Regions from separate parts of the Homo sapiens genome. Here regions 2, 3, 4 and 5 are each linked to region 1. The links are contacts of gene promoters, found by promoter capture Hi-C in human tissues and cell types (Jung and others, 2019). All regions are on one chromosome and are shown on one strand. The core of a region is centred on a gene start or on the middle of the fragment in contact, and the rest is flanking DNA. Distances in the headings are between cores, read along the strand shown. Region 1 holds the start of SIM2 (SIM bHLH transcription factor 2). Region 2 has its middle 83 kb from the start of CLDN14. Region 3 overlaps HLCS (holocarboxylase synthetase). Region 4 overlaps HLCS (holocarboxylase synthetase). Region 5 overlaps HLCS (holocarboxylase synthetase).

Region 1 (2,700 bases), core at 21-2,520:
CACCGAGAACCCAAATCTCCGCGCCCCCATCCGCGGCCCGGTGTCCTCCCGGCCCCTGCTGACCTCCAGGTCACGCACCCCACTGCTCCACGGCTCTGCAGCCTGTGGCACACGGCCGAGAGTCCCCACATGATCTCGACGCCAAGGTAAGGAATTGCCCTGCGTCCTCTGAGCCTGTCTCTGGCCTGGGGGGCCGGGAAAGCTGCACTCCTGGAAGAGGTGGGGTTATGTGACCGCCGCTGCAGGGGTGCGCGGAGGACTCCTGGGCCGCACACCCATTTCCAGGCTGCGGGAGCCGGACAGGGGAGGGCAGAGGGGGGACAAAAGGACTCTTTAGGTCCAAAATGACCCTGAAGGAGAGTCCAGAATGCCCAGTGGCCGCGTCTGCAACGGAGTCTTCTTTCTCCAATTGCCTTCTGCCCCATCACCATGGGCCCCACCTGCGCCACCTGCGCCCACCCTGTGACCCTGGCTCAGCGACCTTGGCCCTTAATCGCCCAACGCCGATTCCTCAAAATTCCGGCTGCGCTGAATCGGGCTGCTTTTGCCGCCGCCCCGGCAGTTGGGCCCTGTTTCCGCCGGCGCCCTGGGAGAGGCCTCACCACTCGGCTGGGCTCCCTGGCCCCTCCCTTCCCCTGGCCTGAGCGCCCCTGCGGCCTCCCGCTCCTCCTGAGAAGGCGACAATCTCTTTGCACCTTAGTGTTTCGAGGACAGAAAGGGCAGAAGGGTCACTTCGGAGCCACTCGCGCCGTTTTCACGTGTGTGTGTAATGGGGGGAGGGGGGCTCCCGGCTTTCCCCTTTTCAGCTCTTGGACCTGCAACACCGGGAGGGCGAGGACGCGGGACCAGCGCACCCTCGGAAGGCTCGATCCTCCCCGGCAGGGCGCCTGGCCAACGAGTCGCGCCGCCTCCTCTCGGCCGCGCCTGCTGGTGACCTTCCCGAGAGCCACAGGGGCGGCCTCGGCACCCCTCCTTCCCTCGCCCTCCCTGCCGCCCATCCTAGCTCCGGGGTCCGGCGACCGGCGCTCAGGAGCGGGTCCCCGCGGCGCGCCGTGTGCACTCACCGCGACTTCCCCGAACCCGGGAGCGCGCGGGTCTCTCCCGGGAGAGTCCCTGGAGGCAGCGACGCGGAGGCGCGCCTGTGACTCCAGGGCCGCGGCGGGGTCGGAGGCAAGATTCGCCGCCCCCGCCCCCGCCGCGGTCCCTCCCCCCTCCCGCTCCCCCCTCCGGGACCCAGGCGGCCAGTGCTCCGCCCGAAGGCGGGTCTGCCATAAACAAACGCGGCTCGGCCGCACGTGGACAGCGGAGGTGCTGCGCCTAGCCACACATCGCGGGCTCCGGCGCTGCGTCTCCAGGCACAGGGAGCCGCCAGGAAGGGCAGGAGAGCGCGCCCGGGCCAGGGCCCGGCCCCAGCCGCCTGCGACTCGCTCCCCTCCGCTGGGCTCCCGCTCCATGGCTCCGCGGCCACCGCCGCCCCTGTCGCCCTCCGGTCCGGAGGGGCCTTGCCGCAGCCGGTTCGAGCACTCGACGAAGGAGTAAGCAGCGCCTCCGCCTCCGCGCCGGCCGCCCCCACCCCCCAGGAAGGCCGAGGCAGGAGAGGCAGGAGGGAGGAAACAGGAGCGAGCAGGAACGGGGCTCCGGTTGCTGCAGGACGGTCCAGCCCGGAGGAGGCTGCGCTCCGGGCAGCGGCGGGCGGCGCCGCCGGGTTGCTCGGAGCTCAGGCCCGGCGGCTGCGGGGAGGCGTCTCGGAACCCCGGGAGGCCCCCCGCACCTGCCCGCGGCCCACTCCGCGGACTCACCTGGCTCCCGGCTCCCCCTTCCCCATCCCCGCCGCCGCAGCCCGAGCGGGGCTCCGCGGGCCTGGAGCACGGCCGGGTCTAATATGCCCGGAGCCGAGGCGCGATGAAGGAGAAGTCCAAGAATGCGGCCAAGACCAGGAGGGAGAAGGAAAATGGCGAGTTTTACGAGCTTGCCAAGCTGCTCCCGCTGCCGTCGGCCATCACTTCGCAGCTGGACAAAGCGTCCATCATCCGCCTCACCACGAGCTACCTGAAGATGCGCGCCGTCTTCCCCGAAGGTGAGGCCTCAGGTGGGCGGCCGGGGACGCTGGGGAGCCCGGCGGCCCCGGCCCAGGCGGGAAGCGCAAGCCAGCCCGCCCAGAGGGGTTGCCGCGGCCTGGCGTCCAGAGCTGGGGCGTCTGAGGGAGGTTGCGTGAGGGTCTTCGGCTTCGGCGCTGGCTTGGGGCGAGGGGCCAGGGCCTTGGCGGCCCAGGCGACCAAACCCTCTCCTGGTCCAGGGCTGGGTGAGGGCGAATTACGAATTGTTCCAGGGGCAGGCAGTCCCCCAGCCCGCACGGCCAGCGAGTTCTTTCTGGTTTTGTTCTTTCTCCCTTTCCTCCTTCCTTCCTTCGCCAGTGCATTCTGGTTTGGTTTGGATTTTTTTCTCTCTTTCTTTCCTTTCTTTCTTTCTTTCTCTTTCTTTTTCTTTCTTTCTTCCTCTTTCTTTCATTCTCCCCTTCCTTCCTTCCTTGGCCCCCTCTCTCCCTCCCTCCTTCCTTCCTTCCTTTGCCAATGCATTGGTTTGTTTTCTTTCCTTTTCTGCTTTCCTTCCTTTCTTTGGAAGTTCACTCTGGTTTTGCTTTCTTTCTTTCCCCATCCCTTCCTTTCTTTATCCCTCCTTCCCTTCCTCCTTTTCTTTCTA
Region 2 (2,731 bases), core at 194-2,693, 140 kb before region 1:
CATGAAAATGCAGCAAAGAAGGCTATTATTACAATCATCTCTGAGGGATGATAGATCCTCTAGCTAATGTGTATTCATAGGGGTAATGTCTCTGATTAATCCATCAGCACCATTGTCACACAGGGAAACAGATACCCTGAAGAAGAGGACTAGGATGGGTACTGTTGAAAGAGGGTGGGAAATCTGGCAGGGTATGGCTTTCTATGGGGCTTCATGAGCCTGCATCTCAGACCCTCTTTGGCAGATTTGAGTCACCAGGAGGGACCCAAGGGCAGGAAGTAGGCTACAGCCAAGAGATGGGCACCAAGAGGAAACAGGAAACACATGGGACATCCACTTTGTAATTCTGCACCCAGCTCATTCTTCAGCTAAGTACTAAGCTTATTCCCATTTTCTGGCTCTTAAACCATAACAAGACCTCTTCTGAAATATTCCTGAGGAAAAGGACCTATTTTCTTCTCTAAGGAAAAGCCCCACCAAGTCTCCAGAGTTGATCGCTTCCAACCCATGTGTCATCTTGTGTTTATGATTTTCCCATCAGTTTTGCTTTAAAAATTAATTTTTAATAATCTCTAAAGAAATGCGTTCACCCTTATCTTTAAAATATTCAAAGGATCCCCTATCCATTCTGTGCTTTTTTTTTTTTTTCATGAGCAAATTACATCTGGCCTCTTTCCCGCCTGGGGAATAGGCAGTGATCATCTGGGATGGAGACTTGGCTGGTTCTCAGCACAGTCAAGCGGTGTAGTTTTGTGGTGAGCCCACTGGCCTGGGAATTCTAATAACCCTGGCTTCATGGGTAATTTGGGGTAAGTTATTCATTCTGTTCTTCATCTGGCTCCTCTGCAAAATGGGGCAAATAATAATATGGCATGATTTCGAAGCCATAACAAGATGATGGAAATGAAAGTGGTCACCTTCATCTAAACATGAACTTGGGTGCTGCAAAAATGCAGAATGAAATGTTATCATTCTTCAGGGGAGTCATATTTCATGAAGACCTCTGTGTTTTAATCACTAACTTAAAAGTAAAAGAAGGAAAGGAAAAAAATTAATGATAGCAGCCTGAGATGCATGGGCTACATTCTCTGCTGCTTAGAGAACAAGAAAATGCATGACACTGTTTTGAAAAGTTAATCACGGAGGGCTTTGAAGGGTTTCATCTAGAACAAGTTGCAGGTAATATGGGAAAAAGATTGGAGTCATAGCATCTCCGTGCATTATTGGGGTTTTAAATCCTAAATCACTACATACAGTGCATATTCTGGTTTAGGCTACCCAACTGGATATGTTGGCCTGGTTTCCTTACCGTAGCGCTCTCTGTTAATAACTAAACATGTTGGAGAAAAAAAAAAAGCAGGGCTTTTTTCAAAGTTGCAAGTCAATGTGCTGTAAACATGGGTCTGAGGTTAGGATATTGAATTCCGTGAATAACAACAATCTGTCTTACTCCATTAATCAGAGGTTTACAATCCTTACAGTCTTATGAGCCATAGGGCCGTCACTGATAATTCTCTGTCAAAGAGAAATGGAATCATCTAGACATGTGCTTAAAGAGGAATTTTTCCCCTTGTTGATTTTATGTAGGAAACGATTATTAGAAAATGTTGGCTCCCATGGAGGTTCGGAGACTGTGGGAAGAGACCTCATGGTGGGGATAGTGGAGATGCGAAAGACACGTGGAGCCTTTTGGCAGACAGGGCTCAGCAAAAAGAGGTCCAGCAATTTGTTGGGCAAGGTCTCTGCGTGGTCTCCTCTGGGACCTATTCCAGAGCAGTGAAACTAATAATCCTCAAATTCACTCCCTCTCCCCCAGGCGCCATTACGCCATATTTGAATTATGTTATCAAAAAGACAGACGTGGATTCAGTTCTGATCCCCCAAACTCTTAAGGAAACGTGCCCCTTCCCTAATGGGAAAGTGTATTCGATGACCTGAAAGTTCACATGCCTTAAATCTGGCCGCCCTACTCCCCAGTCCTGGGCTGCACCCTCGTTCTGTGGAGTTCTGAGAAATGCCGAAGATGAGGCAGGTGGCAAATGTGGCTCCCTGAGAGCTAAACCTGACATCAAACCAGGAGCTCGGCTCAGTGTTTGTCAGCAAAATTAGCCTTTTCTTGCAGTGTTATATAAATTTTCCATAGAAATCTGGCATGTGTCAAGAATATGTGTCAAGAAGGATGCCTGTTTTCCTAACTTAGGTGTAATCACCAGGTGCCCTACTTAAATTTATGTGCAAGGGTGTAGGCACCAGAGAAAACTACCAGCTATCGCTAAGCCAACAAAAGCCATCAATTAGGGATGAAAAGTGTGAAGAGTTGGGATGGAGTTGCCTTCCATTAACACCTCTGATTTGGATCCTTAAGATGACAGAACCACCAGTAAAACCCATTTCCAGTATCTAGAACAGGTGTGGTTTCGCCCCTGGAGGACAGCCTTGGCTGACACTGAGAGAAGGGGCTGGGATTGAGTCTCTTTGGTGAGCAACCTCCTAGATGTAATTCTAGAGTCAATTCCAGGGCGTTTCACCAGAGACCTCAGGTGATGTGTATGGCTGTGGTTGTAAAATAATTTCCCACCAAAGACGCCCATGCCCTCATCTCCAGAACCCATGAGTATGTTATGTTACATGCAAGGGCAGTGAAGGTTGCAGAGGGAATTAAGGTTGCTAACCAGGTGACTTCAGAATAAGGAGATTATCAGGTGAGCCCAATGTAGTACCAAGGGTTCTT
Region 3 (2,700 bases), core at 2-2,501, 190 kb after region 1:
CATCATTCCTCCTTCTCATCTCCTTGCCCTTCCACAACCAGGGAAAATCCTTCTCCGCCAGGCAATGACTTCATCGTTTCCTTCTCACTAATTTGAATACTCTTATGGGAGAGCCAAACAAAAAATGAAAATGATGAATGACTCCTTGTGCAATGCAGAAAAAATGTGGCGTTTGGGATCTCACAGTGACGGAATACCCCTCATGCAGAAACAGAACATGCTTCTCTCCAAAACAAAAAGCAGAAACAACAAAGGTATTTCAGAGCTCAGAAGGTGTTTTGCCAAATGGTAGGTGTGTAAAAGATTTTAAAGGGGCAGGTGAAAGCAAATCAACTCTCACCTCCAAAGCAGGTAACTGTTTTATTTGAAAGAAAAACAAAAGTTCCCTCTAAATAAGCCACAAAGCTAAGTCAGGGGAGAAAAAGAAATGGAAGAGAGGGATGCCTAACAAGTAGGAGGAAAAATACCTGCTGGGATAACTGGCACATTTATTTTAAACATTGACAGATTTTGACTAAAACATATTTTTAAGCCGGAACTCAACCTCTATCTGCACACCCCATGTGTCCAGGTGACTGGTCAGACCTCAATCATGAACACTAACGTCTAAGAATATCTAAAAAAGTTTCTACTTAGAAACTACTGTTAAATCATAATCCAAGTTTGGGCAATGCTGCTTTCTTATCATAGATTTCTTACTGCATCAGAATCTTGAAACATATGCTCAGGTTTTATTTGCAGTTTCCACTGTCGGTGGCTATCAGCAGCGCTGTGTGGGGAAAGCACCTGTCTTCCTTGGTAGCTGAAGAGGAGATTAAACCAACTCTTGGTGGCCACCCCACTCCGTGTCAGAGACTATGCAATGGGCTTTCCACAGCACCACCTGCTCTGACCTTCCCCACATGAATGGCTGCCAGGTCCGACCCGCAGACCATGGCTGAACAACGGATGAACAAATGCACTCAGACACAAGAATCCAGTGAAAGAGCAGGCTAGGGGACCCGGCCACCCACAGACACCAAGGAGGGTGCTGTAATGAGTCAGCAGCCACAGCCCCGAAAAGCCGGCACTGTGGGCATTTATTCAGTATAGATTTAATGACAAAGGCCTTGAGTCAACACATTTGTGGGCAATTCACATGGTCACCCAGACCCGGAGAGAGTAGTTCTGTGCGTGGATGCTTAAGGGCGAGGTTCCAAGGCCTAAGTAAACTAACTTACCTAGATCAGTTTATTTATATCCCCTTGTTATCTAACGTAAGCTTTCAGGCACCAGATAAAAGAATCTGGCTGCCTTCAGCCAAATCCTTTTCCGAAGCTTTTGTAAAACCTTCCAGCCTTCCAAGAAGGTTTGCATCTTCTGCAATTTTTCCCACCACCCTTACCAATCTCCTACAAATGGCATTACCATGAGTGGGCATTATTGCAGCTTGTCCATTTTAAGATGAGATGTCATGGAATTTGCCCCAGGCCAGTAGCCAATGAAGCTCCAGAGCCTGCCCTGCTTTCAGCATCCCATGCAGCCTTGCCCAGTGGGAAACCAGACTTCTAATAAACTCAGGCTGGTTATTCCAAGGTCATGTCTTTGGCCCTTCTGCTAAAGAATAACTCCTTTACAATCTAAAGACTAGAGTGGAAGCAGTTCCAACCCTCAGCAGATTCAGCTCACTACTAAACTAAAATCAACACATTTGGATTTTTCTCTAAGGTAAACCTGAACTGGGGGGAAAAGAGCATAGAGAAGTCCCTGTCACCCTCTTTATTGATTATCTTTTCTAACCCTAAACCTTGCCTTATTACCTTTTGTGGTCTTTTATTGCTTGTTTAAATAAAACAGAGGCATTTGACAAAATGAATATTAAATGTAGTTACAATCAAGCAATTCTGCAGAGTAATAAACATCTGGGGTTTTTTTTAGAGCTTAAAGAGAATGTAGTAATGTCAGGTGCACGTGTTTCTGACTGTCATGGAAGGTTCAGGGGTCTCAGGAAGGTGTGGGTGATGCACAAGGCATATCCAAGGGACTGCGAAAATGTTCAAACCACTGCAGATTTGGCTCTTTTGAAATGACTGTGAATTACCTGTGAAAATGATAACTAAAGGGTTAAGATTTCAAAAAAAGAGAAGGTTCAATGAAAAAGAGACTTGCTTCACATATAAGAGAAACACAAACATGGACAACTGACTATGTTTTCTCATCTTTCAAAAAAAGTTGGACTAAAATATTTTTGGCACAACAGTAACCAGCAACAAACAATTGGTTCTAGTATGAGAAAAAAACTGTCGAAATCTTCAAACAAAAACTCCATTCCAAGAAAACACCTACCACACCAGGCACGGTGGCTCATGCCTATAATCCCAGCACTTTGGGAGGCCAAGGTGGGAGGATCGCTTAAATTCAACAGTTCAAGGCCAACCTGGGTAACATAGTGGGACCCCTGTCTCTACAAAAAATTTAAAAATTATCCAGGCATGGTGGCTCACGCCTGTGGTCCCAGCTACTCGGGACGCTGAGGTGGGAGGATCACTTGGGCCCAGGAAGTTGAGACTGCAGTGAGCCATGATCAGACCACTGTACTCCAGCCTGGGTGACAGAGCAAGATCCTGTCTCAAAAAAAAAAAAAAAAAGATACACATATCACAGTCCTGAACACAGACCACACCAATCTGTTTCATGGACGTCCACAGCACTGCTGCTGAA
Region 4 (2,700 bases), core at 174-2,673, 210 kb after region 1:
TTAGCCTCCCCCAAAACTTTCTCCCCGCTCCACCATTAACCCTGGACAACATAAAAATTCTGAATAAAATTCTGGTTGTAAGAAATACCAAAATTACTATCTGTTTGATATAAATCTGCCTGGCATGTCTTCTCAAATGCACTCAAATTATGATTATGACTTGAGAGTTGCATATACAGCTGCTAATAATACATGTAGGGAAAAGGAATTAATTCATGACTCTTGCCTAAACTCTCCTAATGACCATGCAATGTAAAAATGTTACTGAAGAAAAAAGGTTTGGATCATAGACATCAAGACAAGTGGGCTGACATATAAGTAGCACTACCCACTCTGCAATACGCAAATGCACCTATTTCTTTGAACTCAACTATCAGAGGATAGCTAAAACGTCACTTCTATAGGGAGGATGTCTCTGACCCACAGCCGTTCACAAACTTTCGTAAACCCTTAGTTACTTTATAGCACTTATCACGACTATACATAATTTGTATAAGTGCTTATTCAATGCCACACTGTCTTATTAGAATATAAGTTCCATAAAGATAATATACATATGTTCCTGTTTTGCTCCCAACGGTATCCATGGAACCTAGGACAAAAGTGCATGCTTAATAAGCATTTACTGTATAAATGCACATTAAAACCTTACCAAGGAAAACTCTCCAAATAACAGATAGATAGGTAATCAAGAGGTAAAACTCAAAAAAGACAATGAGAGAGTATGGTCTTGAGATGGCTACGTAAGCATCAAAAATAATGCACAGTCTTTGAAATCATTACAGCTAGTTCTATTGACAACAAACAACCACTATCAGATTCCACTTCAAGGGGGTTTATAAAATTCTAATTAATGTTATTTTTCTAACATTTAATCTTCAAGAATTTAGTATTTCTCTTCTTCTAGGATTTCAGGTTAATTAAATATGATTTGGGTGGAACCAACAGCTGAATGCTTTATAGTCACATAAATGTGGCCCTTTTAAATCAGCCACAGCACCAGTCATTCTCAAGAAAGGTGAATATATTCTTTGTCTTTTATTGGGTCATGTTGCACAGGACATGAAAATCCAAAGGAATCTTAAAAAAAAAAATAGAACTAATAAGTGAGTTTAGCAAGGTTGTGGGATACAAGGTCAATATACAAAAATTGGCTGGGCACAGTGGCTCACGTCTGTAATCCCAGCCCTTTGGGAGGCCAAAGTGGGTGGATCACTTGAGGTCAGGAGTTCAAGACCAGCCTGGCCAACATGGTGAAACCCCACTTCTACAAAAATACAAAATTAGCCGGGTGTGGTGGCACACACCTATAATCTCAGGTACTTGGGAGGCTGAGACACGAGAATCACTTGAACCTGGGAGGCAGAGGTTGCAGTGACCTAAGATTGTACCATTGCACTCCAGGCTGGGCAACAGAGTGAGACTCCATCTCAAAAAAAAAAAAAAACAAAACAAAAATTGGGTGCATTTCCATATACTAACAATAAATATTTGGAGCCTGAACTTCTTTAAAATATCATTTTAATGGCATCAATAGATCTGAAATATTTAGGGACATATTTAACAAAATATGTGCCAGACCTGTTTACTGAAAACTACAAAACACTCCTGAATTAAAAATTAAAGATGTCTGAGCATCATAACTCATACTCGTAATCCCAGCACTTTGGAAGGCTGAGTATGGAGGATCACTTGAGCCCAGGAATTTGACACCAGCTTGGGCAACATGGAAAGACCTCATGTCTAAAAAAAAGAGTTTTTCTTTAATTAGCTGGGTGTGGTGGCATGCACCTGTAGTCCCAGCTAGTCAGGAGGCTGAGGTGAGAGGATCACTTGAGCCCAGGAGCTAGGCTGCAACAAGCCATGATGGCACCACTGCACTCCAGTCTAAGCGACAGAGCGAGACCCCATCTCAAAAACACAAAAAGAAAATTAAAGAGGCTGTAAATAACTGAAAAGATACACCATGTTCATGGATCAGAAGACTAACACTGTTAAGATGTCAATTCTTCAAATTAATCTATGGGTTCAATGTAATCCCAGTCAAAATCCCAGAAGGCTTTTTTTTTTTTTTTTTGTAGAAATTAACAAGCTGAAAATAGAAACTATTTTAAATGGTCAAAACAATTTTGGGAAGGAACAAAAAGTTGGAAAACCTACATTATCTGCTTTCAAGACTTACTATAAAGTTGCAGTATATCAAGACGGTGTGGTATTGGCACACAGAGATAGGTATAGATTACTGGCACAGAATAGGGTACAGAAATAGGGCCAAACATATAAGTGTGATTGATTTTTTTTAATTTTTTTGAGACAGCGTCTTGCGCTACCACCCAGTGGGGAGTGCAGTGGTGTGATTACAGCTCACTGCAGCCTCAAATTCCTGAGCTCAAGCCAACCTCCCACCTTGGCCTGTTTGATTGATTTTTGACAACAGTGCCCAAGATAACTGACTTGAAAAATGATAATCTTTGCAATACATGGTGCTGAAACAAACATTCATATGCAAGAATATGAAACCTTGATCTCTATCTCACATGTATATAAAAATTAACTTGAAATAAATCATAGACCTAAATGTAAAACTACAAACCTTCTAAAATAAAATACAGGAGAAAACCTTTCTGACTTTGGGTAGGTAAAGTTTTTTTCAGATGGAACAAAATAAGCATGAACCATAAAAGGAAAAAAGTGATAAGC
Region 5 (2,700 bases), core at 111-2,610, 130 kb after region 1:
ACCAGCCTGGGCAACATGATGAAACCCGAAACCTTGTCTCTAAAAAAAGTTTAAAAAATTAGCAGGGCATGGTGGCACACATCTGTAGTCTCAACAACTCTGGACAAGCCCCTGGAAGTTGAGGCTGCAGTGAGCCATGATGATGCCACTGTACTCCAGCCTGGGCAACAGAGTGAGACCCTCTCTCAAAAAAAAAAAAAAAAAAAAAAAAGGGTAGACACAGGTGATCCCTACATCCAGGATGAGGAGGCTTTTACTCTGAGGTATCTACCCTAGTTATCCCCAGAAAGCCATTCCATTTCTTTAAAGGGAGGAATCACCCTAAGGCAGCTTCATCATTGTCATCCTCCACCTGCTTTTCATCTCCCCAAATTCGGTTTAAATCTTATCTGCTGATAACCACCTTTATTTCCTTTGATGTTGTAGATGTTTAACTATTAGTTTTGTATAATCTTTTCGGAGGGTTTTAAGAAGGGGAGAAGATAAACTCAACACGTGATCCCATGGCCTTATTCAAGTAGAAGCTCCAATCTATTTTTTTTAACATTGTTTCCTGATATTAAATCAAATAAGAGATGTAGGGTTCTCCTGATTACAATTAACTCTCTCATATGGCTAAATAAGGACATGACAAGTTATGCAAAACGTTTCTTTAAAGCTCTCTTGAAAGTGTTCAAGGAAGTGGGAAGACATAGAAATCTTTGAGGGTAGCCAAAGGGAAGGAAATAAATTACATGTCTCAGAATATAGAAATAAAGTTACTGGGCCGGCATGGTGGCTCACACCTGTAATCTCAGCACTTTGGGAGGGCGAGGTGGGCAGATCACTACAGGTCAGGAGTTCGAGACCAGCCTGGCCAACATGGTGAAACCCTGTCTCTACTAAAAATACAAAAAACATTAGCCAGGTGTGGTGGCATGCACCTGTAGTCCCAGCTACTCAGGAGGCTGAGGTAGGAGAATCACTTGAACCTGGGAGGTGGAGGTTGCAGTGAGCCAAGATCATGCCACTGCACTTCAGCCTGGGCAACAGAGCAAGACTCCAACTCTAAAACAATAAATCAATCAAAATAAAGTTATTGTATCACAGCAGCTATGTCATCTGGAAACAAAATATTCTATTTAGGTATGGAGTGGTTTAGGGTTAGGTCTCCTTTATGAGTAGAAGGGAATATATTTAAAATTTTTTTTAAATACAATTTCCTATATTTCAGTTTCAGAACTGGTTCTAAATCACTGGCTCTGAGCAATTTCGCTAGAAATGCTCCCTAATGACCTGCCCTGAGCTAATAGCATCGAGATCATTGATTAGACACAAGACAAGGAGCCCAGGACACAGGGCACAGCTAAGCTTTCACAGCTCAGATTTTCAGCCTTTCCATCACCACGGTGGAAGGGGAAAAAAAATCCTTTCAGTTCCCTGAAGGATGTGTTCTTGCACATAAATTGGCATTTAGGTTCAATTAGATACTGAAGGCCTGGTCCTTTAAGGCCAGCCGGGTGGGTTGCGGCTAGATATGCCTCGGCGCCTCTCCTCTGTCCTATTACTGGGCAAGTGTCCTCTGGCTGTATGTGCTCCAAGTTATAACCTAACGAAAGGGCAAAAAGGTAGAAGAGATGGCTGATGAGGAGGAAGAGGATGGAAAGAAAAGGAAGACAAAGATTTCCCTGACTATGCACATAGCCAGAATCTCAGCAGGTGAAATTACACAGCACAGAGAATCTCGATGAAGATTCTAATATAGATCACACAACTCTGAAGCTTTTCTCTTTAACATGAGACTCAGTTAAGGGTTGGAAGGGAGCTGGTGAGCAATGAAACAGTAAAGTACAAGAGGGCTCCAGCTTCCCGACCTCACTCACAGTCTAGGCTAGATTAGCACATGCCAGACACAGTTCTGTTCACTTTACAGCCATTGCTCATTTAATACTCACAACAATGACACTCACAGTATCTTCACTTTACAGATAGGGAAAATAAGGCATAGAAAGGTTAAGTGACTTGCCCAAAGTCACACAGCTAGTCCAAGGCAAAGCCTCAGCTCTGACATGGGAGGCCATTCCCTAACTCTTTGTTCACTGTTTTCTTTAAAACATGATCTTGGAATTACTTTCTCTCATTTAGCAATATCATGCTAATTCAAGAGTCAGTAAAATGTGTCCTTGAAGGTAGGTACAAAAAAGGATGTTCCCTCCAAAGGCAGCCCTCATCACAGCCTGAACCTTCAAAGGGTTGTAAGGAGCCTCAGATGCACAGCTGCCTTCTCTAGCACCACACTTTTGGTTCCACTGCTTAGACAACTAAGGAGAATGAAGAGCTTGTTCCTTATTTTCCAGCTTCTAGAAGGGCAAAGGAAGGGAATACCATGAGACAGAGGCCACACAGCACCCAAAAATAGAAGACCATTTTTTTTTTTTAGGCAAGGTCACCCAGGCTGGTGTACAGTGGCACAATCAGTCCATAGCAGCCTTGACTTCCCAGGCTCAAGTGATCCTCCCAGCTCAGCTTCCCAACCTGCTGGGACTACAGGCACATGCCACCATGCCTAGCTAAATTTTTTTTTTTTTAATTTTAGTAGAGATGAGGTCTCACTTTGTTGCCCAGGCTGGTTCTTGAACTCCTGGGCTCAAGTGATCCTCCTACCTAGGCCTCCCAAAGTGCTAGGATTGGCCGGGTGCAATGGCTCACACCTGTAATCTC

Evidence for each region. Contacts are between HindIII fragments. The study calls those that stand out against the background at their distance.
Region 2: a fragment that was not itself captured here is called in contact with the fragment with the promoter of SIM2 in region 1 in 3 of the 25 tissues and cell types used here (IMR-90 fibroblasts, bladder and spleen).
Region 3: a fragment that was not itself captured here is called in contact with the fragment with the promoter of SIM2 in region 1 in 3 of the 25 tissues and cell types used here (heart left ventricle, lymphoblastoid cells and mesendoderm cells).
Region 4: a contact is called between a fragment that was not itself captured here and the fragment with the promoter of SIM2 in region 1, in 2 of the 25 tissues and cell types used here (dorsolateral prefrontal cortex and mesendoderm cells).
Region 5: a contact is called between a fragment that was not itself captured here and the fragment with the promoter of SIM2 in region 1, in 2 of the 25 tissues and cell types used here (liver and lymphoblastoid cells).

The regions. Positions count from the first base shown.
Region 1 is chr21:36,697,845-36,700,544 of GRCh38, forward strand. It overlaps SIM2 (SIM bHLH transcription factor 2), which reads left to right and starts at 1,271. Exons shown (of 11, transcript NM_005069.6): 1 at 1,271-2,077. The coding sequence starts at 1,903. LOC105369308 (a long non-coding RNA gene) reads right to left here and starts at 1,147. Exons shown (of 3, transcript NR_188246.1): 1 at 1,065-1,147. It overlaps LOC107985492 (a long non-coding RNA gene), which reads left to right and starts at 2,672. Exons shown (of 4, transcript XR_001755029.1): 1 at 2,672-2,700. RefSeq lists an enhancer at 2,498-2,700. The HindIII fragment of the contact is 19,577 bases long and covers 1-2,700 here.
Region 2 is chr21:36,562,064-36,564,794 of GRCh38, forward strand. It overlaps a transcript of CLDN14 not described here. Among named protein-coding and RNA genes, the nearest start is that of CLDN14, 83 kb to the left of the region's middle. The HindIII fragment of the contact is 4,931 bases long and covers 1-2,731 here.
Region 3 is chr21:36,882,898-36,885,597 of GRCh38, forward strand. All of the region lies in intron 6 of HLCS (holocarboxylase synthetase), which reads right to left. Among named protein-coding and RNA genes, the nearest start is that of HLCS-AS1, 82 kb to the right of the region's middle. The HindIII fragment of the contact is 3,396 bases long and covers 1-2,700 here.
Region 4 is chr21:36,904,618-36,907,317 of GRCh38, forward strand. All of the region lies in intron 5 of HLCS (holocarboxylase synthetase), which reads right to left. Among named protein-coding and RNA genes, the nearest start is that of HLCS-AS1, 60 kb to the right of the region's middle. The HindIII fragment of the contact is 8,102 bases long and covers 1-2,700 here.
Region 5 is chr21:36,830,635-36,833,334 of GRCh38, forward strand. All of the region lies in intron 6 of HLCS (holocarboxylase synthetase), which reads right to left. Among named protein-coding and RNA genes, the nearest start is that of SIM2, 130 kb to the left of the region's middle. The HindIII fragment of the contact is 5,234 bases long and covers 1-2,700 here.